Regions from separate parts of the Homo sapiens genome. Here region 1 is linked to region 2. The links are contacts of gene promoters, found by promoter capture Hi-C in human tissues and cell types (Jung and others, 2019). All regions are on one chromosome and are shown on one strand. The core of a region is centred on a gene start or on the middle of the fragment in contact, and the rest is flanking DNA. Distances in the headings are between cores, read along the strand shown.

Region 1 (3,403 bases), core at 692-3,191, 120 kb before region 2:
CTACAAAAATACAAAAATTAACCCAGTGTGGTGGCATATACCTATAGTCCCAGCTAGTCGGGAGGCTGAGGCAGGAGCATCGCTTGAATCTGGGAGGCAGAGATTGCAGTGAACCCAGATGGTGCCACTGCACTCCAGCCTGGGCGATAGAGCAAGACTCCGTCCCCACCACCCCCCAAAAAAAAGCCGGGTGCGGTGGCTCACGCCTGTAATCCCAGTGTGTCCGGAATTGGTGGGTTCTTGGTCTCACTGACTTCAAGAATGAAGCCGCGGACCCTCGCGGTGAGTGTTACAGTTCTTAAAGGTGGCGTGTCCAGAGTTTGTTCCTTCTGATGTTCAGATGTGTTCGGAGTTTCTTCCTTCTGGTGGGTTCGTGATCTCGCTGGCTCAGGAGTGAAGCTGCAGACCTTCGTGGTGAGTGTTACAGCTCTTAAGGCGGCGCGTCTGGAGTTGCTCGTTCCTCCTGGTGGGCTCCTGGTCTCCCTAGCTTCAGGAGTGAAGCTGCAGACCTTCGGGGTGAGTATTACAGCTCATAAAAGCAGTGTGGACCCAAAGAGTAAGCAGTAGTAAGATTTATTGCAAAGAACAAAAGAACAAAGCTTCCACAATGCGGAAAGGAACCCGAGCGGGTTGCCACTGCTGCCTGGGGCAGCCTGCTTTTATTCTCTTATCTGGCCCCACCCACATCCTGCTGATTGGTAGAGCCAAGTGGTCTGTTTTGACAGGGCGCTGATTGGTGCGTTTACAATCCCTGATCTAGACACAAAGGTTCTCCACGTCCCCACCAGATTAGCTAGATACAGAGTGTGGACACAAAGGTTCTCCAAGGCCCCACCAGAGTAGCTAGATACAGAATGTCGATTGGTGCATTCACAAACCCTGAGCTAGACACAGGGTGCTGATTGGTGTGTTCACAAACCTTGAGCTAGATACAGAGTGCCGATTGGTGTATTTACAATCCCTGAGCTAGACACAAAGGTTCTCCACGTCCCCAGCAGACTCAGGAGCCCAGCTGGCTTCACCCAGTGGATCCCGCACCGGGGCTGCAGATGGAGCTGCCTGCCAGTCCCGTGCCCTGTGCCTGCACTCCTCAACCCTTGGGTCGTTGATGGGACTGGACACCATGGAGCAGGGGGTGGGGCTCGTGGAGGAGGCTTGGGCCGCACAGGAGCCCACGGAGGGGGTGGGAGGCTCAGGCATGGCGGGCTGCAGGTCCCGAGCCCTGCCCCACGGGAAGGCAGCTAAGGCCCGGCGAGAAATCGAGCGCAGCGCCGGTGGGCTGGCACTGCTGGGGGACCCAGCACACCCTCAGCAGCCGCTGGCCCGGGTGCTAAGCCCCTCATTGCCCGGAGCCGGCAGGGCCCGCCAGCTGCTCCGAGTGCGGGGCCCACCAAGCCCACGCCCACCCGGAACTCCAGCTGGCCCGCAAGCGCCCCGCGCAGCCCCGGTTCCCGCTCGCGCCTCTCCCTCCACACCTCCCTGCAAGCTGAGGGAGCGGGCTCCGGCCTTGGCCAGCCCAGAAAGGGGCTCCCACAGTGCAGCGGTGGGCTGAAGGGCTCCTCAAGTGCCGCCAAAGTGGGAGCCCAGGCAGAGGAGGCGCCGAGAGCGAGCGAGGGCTGTGAGGACTGCCAGCACGCTGTCACCTCTCACCAGCACTTTGGGAGGCTGAGGCGGGTGGATCACGAGGTCAGGAGATCGAGACCATCCTGGCTAACACGGCGAAACCCTGTCTCTACTAAAAATACAAAAAAATTAGACGAGTGTGGTGGCAAGTGCCTGTAGTCCCAGCTACTCAGGAGGCTGAGGCAAGAGAATGGCGTGAACGTAGGCAGCAGAGCTTGTAGTGAGCCGAGATCGTGCCACTGCACTCCAGACTGTGCGACAGAGCGAGAGACTCCGTCTCAAAAAAAAAAAAAAAAAAAATCTATAAACTGGTGCACCGGTACCGGTCCCCATCTCCCCAGGTTATGAGGAACAAATGAGATAATCCACAGAGCAGGCGAAACACATTGAGTAAGCCACTGTTATTTACTAAGAAGACAGGCTCACGGAATGGTTGCGGCAGCCTCATTAGTTCCTTTGCGAAGTGCAGACACCCGCTCTCTGTTTCATTGATTCCTAAATGCATTTTGTTCACATCTTAACACCTCTGAAATCAGGATGAGTCCTAAAATCGATAGCTTCTTAACATTTTAGTTTGCAGCAATCTTTCCCTTCATAGTGACACCAGATAATCGTGCATCGCTTAGACTGAATGAATGCAATTGATTCATTATACAATGAAATGTAGATATATGACATATACACACATATACCATGTGTACCATCGTAACTAAGAGACCACTCTAGATAAGCTATAGAAAGTATAAAAATCATTTTACTTTAATACAAAATCACATAAAGAAAGGCATGTTGGCTAAATCAAATATTCACTAAATATCAGTGAAGTCACCACTGGAATCTCAATAGCACATTTTCCTGCTTTCTTTTCTCCCTTCTGCTAACCATTGAAGACCAGGGTCATCCGTGGGAGCAGATGAGTAGGACACGCGTCTGCACGCTGGAGGCCCTGGGGGTTGACATGGGAGCAGGAAGTGGACCCCCCCACCCTGCACATCCCTTCTGTTTTTCTTGATTTCAGTCTCACTGGCCCAGGCCAAATCTTCAAGGGTGTCTAGTTCTGCAGCCAGGGAGAAAGTGATGCCAAGAGAACCTCGTCTCCTCCCTCCTCAGTCTGCTTTGAAGGGGAAATAAATACACAGGCCTAGTGTGTCTGTGTGGCACAGGGAGGTGGTTTTGCCAGGCATCTTGGAAGGTTGTCTTCTAGAATCAGAGCCATAGCCTTACTTGTGGCCTTGGATCTAGGTCTGTTTCCCCGATCGAAAAAAGAACCTGGTGTGGAGAGAGAGAGGGTTCAGGGTAAGCAGAAGGAACAAAGCAAGGGGCACAGCAACCCCCGTAAAATTTCTAAGTAGCTCTTGCAGCTGTTGACTCAAAAATATGTCCAGGCCAGGCATTGTGGCTCACGCCTGTAATCCTATGATTTTGGGAAGCTGAGGCAAGAGGATGAGGATCACTTGATCCCAGGAGTCTCAGACATGCCTGGGCAGCATAGTGAGACCCCATCTCTAAAAAAAAAAAAAAATTAACCAGGCGTGGTGGCATACACCTGTAATCCCAGCTACTCAGGAAGCTGAGGCAGGAGAATCGCTTGAACCCGGGACGCAGAGGTTGCAGTGAGCCGAGATTGCGCCACTGCACTCCAGCCTGGGCGACAGAGCAAGACACTATCTCAAAAGAAAAAGAAAAAGCAAAAAAACCCCAAAAAACCCGGGTGCGGTGGCTCATGCCTGTAATCCCAGCACTTTGGGAGACGGAGGCAGGCAGATCATGAGGTCAGGAG
Region 2 (3,450 bases), core at 503-3,002:
GGCATAGGGACCCATGAGGACGAGCACAGTCAAACATGGCAATGGTGCTGTTACCTACCTGTGGGTCTGCCCTCAGGTAAAGGGTTCAGACCCAGCTTTGGCTATTTTACTCCAAAACACAGAGATCCATCAAAGTACACAATAAGGGATGGCCTGCCCCTGAGGTTCAGAGAGGCCATCTGTATTTCCTGAGGCTGAACAGCAAGCTGGAGACTGCTCAGGCACCCTGATCCCTCAAGGAAAGGTGTTTCCTCCCATTCTCAGTCTGAAGGGGCTGCCAAGAGCATCCCTGGCTGAGGTTAGGGCAGGAAACCACATGTCTTTCACTTCCTTTTCTCCAGAAACCTCGTCTGAACTCCAGGCCCAGTGGGGAGGCCCTGATTCAGAGAGACTCCTGATCACAGGGCAGAGGCTTAGCCTTAAAGCCACCCCAAATCATCCCTTTCCCCCAATTCAAACAGGGTGGGGAGGAGACACGGGGGCTGGGACTCTCTCACCACTAATTTGGGACAAATTGCTCCTCCCACTGTGACCCTCGGTTTCTTTATCTGTAAAATGAAGATAGTCTCTATAGAGTCCTGTGAGGATTAAGGATAAAATCAGAGGAGAGAACACGGGCTACCACAGGTTCATAAGCTAGGGGAGTCCCGGGAAGAAAGTTGCAAATATGAACCCGAAGACTAGGGGTCACGAAGCTCAGTGGCTGGAGGTCACATTCCCTTTGCTCTGGGGAGACTGGGGGGGGGGGGGATGAAGAAAGGGTCCTGGGCCTGATGTCACATCTTCTTGGTAACTCGGGAGGCCAAGAGGCTTATTTCATGTCTGGAAGAGAATAATATGTCTAAGCACTTAGCTTATATGGTCCCATTTAATTCTTCTAAGGTGGGTCCTATTATGATTACCATTTGACAGGTGAGGAAATAAAGCACAGAGAGGTTAAGTAACTTACCTAAAGTCACACAGCTATTAAACGGTAAAGGTGGGATTGGAACTCCAGAGAACAGCTCTTAATCTCTCGGGTGGTATCTGCCAGCCACCCCTGGTCGGGCAAAAGAAGGCCAGGGCCTCCCTCCCTCCCCACGTCGGGTCTCCTCTGGTCCGGTCCCTGAACACACACACGTGCGCACCCACAGCTGCCCAATGCGGAAGAGCCCTTGGGTCCCCGCGGTCCCACTGCCCGGACGGACAGACCGAGGCCGCCGCCCACCTTCTGGTGCTTGCGCTCCTTCTCGATGCGGTCCATCCTCTCCAGGCGCAGGCGGTCCAGCTCCAGGCGCAGCTCGTCCAGCTCGGGCGCGACGTGGTGGCGGCTGACCAGCACCTCCAGGATCTCCAGGACGCGCACGACCTTGGGCATGAGGCGCGCGATGGCCTCGCAGCCGTGCTGGTCAATGACCCGCTCGAACTCGTGGCCCACAAGCGACGCGATGTCGTACACGTCCATGACGGTCAGCTCGGCCACGTTCTTCTCCAGCGCCGACTCGGCCGCCAGCGCCGACCCCCGCTCCTCCTCCATGGCCACCCTCCTGGCCTGTCCCCCGCCCCGCAAACTCGTGCAACTCCCAAACTTGCCGCTGTCGAGGGCCGGGCCGGCCGGGCCCAGCCTGGGCCGCGGGCGGGCGCGCTCAGCGGGCGCTGGGGCGAGGGCGCAGCGGGCAGCGGGCGGCGGGCGCGGGCGCGGGCACGGGCGGCGGCGCGGGGTGTGCGGGCCCGGGGTCTGGGCGCCCGGCTCGGCCCGGAGCTGCTCCCGAGTGGGCGGCGGCGGCGGCGGCGGCGGCGGCGGCAGCGGGGAGGGCGCGCGCGTGCGCAGGCCCGCGGCGCCTCCCAAGTTGGGATCCGAGTTGCGCTCAATGGAGCCGGGCCGGGCGCCTCGGGGCGGTGCGGGCCTGAGGGGCGGCAGAGCGCGGGGCCGGAGAGGAAGGGCGGCCCGCGGCTCCTCCGGGAAACTTTGGCGGCGGCGGCTGCGAGGCCGGGTGATCGCTTCCCCACAGGGAGGCCGCGCGCCCCGCCCCAATCCCGGCCTGGCCAGGGGCGCGCCCGCTTTCCGCCGCCCGGGGGCGCCCCGGGGTACCCCCCCAAGCGCCGACTCCGCGGCCTGCACTCCGGGCCCCCCTCTCCAGCCGCCGGACCCGCGGCGCCCCTCACCCGTGCCCCGGCCGCCCCTCCCCCGCCCGGCGCTGACTCCTCCCACCACCCGGCCGCCGGGAGGGGTCCAGGCCGCCCCGGGAGAGGGGGCCGGGGGCGCTGGTCTCGCGGGACGATTCGCTGCTCCGGGTAGCGGCCCCGGCCTTGGAGAGGGATGGAGGGGTCACGAGGAGGTCCCCGGGCTGGGGCTCATCCCAGGAAGAGAACGGGGACCCCCCCCGGCCCGCAGACACTCCGCGCAGACCCGGCCACCAGGCGGACTTGCAGAGGCGCCCGGAGAGGGGCCGACGTGTCGAGGAATGCTGGATCCCCGGAGCCCCAGGGCGCGCCTCCCCGAGCCACATCCATCACTGGCTCCTTGTGACATGAACGCCACTTCACAGTAGAGCGAAGCCCGCTTGGCATTCCAGCACCACGAGTTCTCTTGTCCCAAGGCCCCCTGTCCATTTGGGCTGGCCAAATCCACTTGTCCATCAGACCCCCTCCCACTCCCGGGAGAACGTTTCCTGAACCCAGAACCCCATCCACCCTCCCCGCCCCCCACGCAGGAGTTAAGGACCCCCTTGCAAACTCACAGTCCCCTGCTTGCCCCATCAGGATTGCTCTTAGCATCCTGAGTTTTCACCGTGTGGTTGCAGGTAGGTTTCCACCGTCAGATCTTGGCTCCTTGAGGGAAGAAATCTTAATGCCCTTGTAGCCATAAAGCGCACCCCAACGTGGCACGTATTGATTAAAAATCTAAAAGTTGGCCGGGCGCGGTGGCTCACGCCTGTAATCCCAGCACTTTGGGAGACTGAGGTGGACGAGGTCAGGAGTTCAAGACCAGCCTAGCCAAGGTGGTGAAACCCCGTCTCTACTAAAAATACAAAAATTAGCCGGGCATGGTGGCGCATGCCTGTAATCCCAGCTACTCAGGAGGCTGAGGCAGAGAGTTGCTTAAACCCGGGAGGCGGAGGTTGCAGCAAGCCGAAATCGCGCCACTGCACTGCAGGCTGGGTGACAGAGCAAGACTCCATCTCAAAATAATAATATAATACAATAAATAAATAAATAAATAGTAAAAAAAAAAAAATTAAGGCCAGGCGGGGTGGCTCACGCCTGTAATCCCAGCACTTTGGGAGGCCGAGGTGGGAAAATTTCTAGAGCTCAGGAGTTCGAGACCAGCCTGGCCAACATGGTGAAACCACGCCTCTACTAAAAATACAAAAATTAGCCAGACATGGTGGCATGTGCCTGTAATCCCAGCTACTCAAGAGGCTGAGGCGCGAGAATCATTTGAGCCTGGGAGGCAGAGGTTGCAGTGAG

What was found. Contacts are between HindIII fragments. The study calls those that stand out against the background at their distance.
Region 1: a contact is called between a fragment that was not itself captured here and the fragment with the promoter of RILPL1 in region 2, in 3 of the 25 tissues and cell types used here (dorsolateral prefrontal cortex, small bowel and thymus).

The regions. Positions count from the first base shown.
Region 1 is chr12:123,413,030-123,416,432 of GRCh38, forward strand. RILPL2 (Rab interacting lysosomal protein like 2) reads right to left here. Exons shown (of 4, transcript NM_145058.3): 4 at 2,010-2,892. The coding sequence ends at 2,862. Among named protein-coding and RNA genes, the nearest start is that of RILPL2, 22 kb to the right of the region's middle. The HindIII fragment of the contact is 7,685 bases long and covers 1-3,403 here.
Region 2 is chr12:123,531,967-123,535,416 of GRCh38, forward strand. RILPL1 (Rab interacting lysosomal protein like 1) reads right to left here and starts at 1,753. Exons shown (of 7, transcript NM_178314.5): 1 at 1,208-1,753. The coding sequence starts at 1,516. RefSeq lists an enhancer at 754-1,571 and silencers at 1,787-2,476, 2,496-2,681. The HindIII fragment of the contact is 25,082 bases long and covers 1-3,450 here.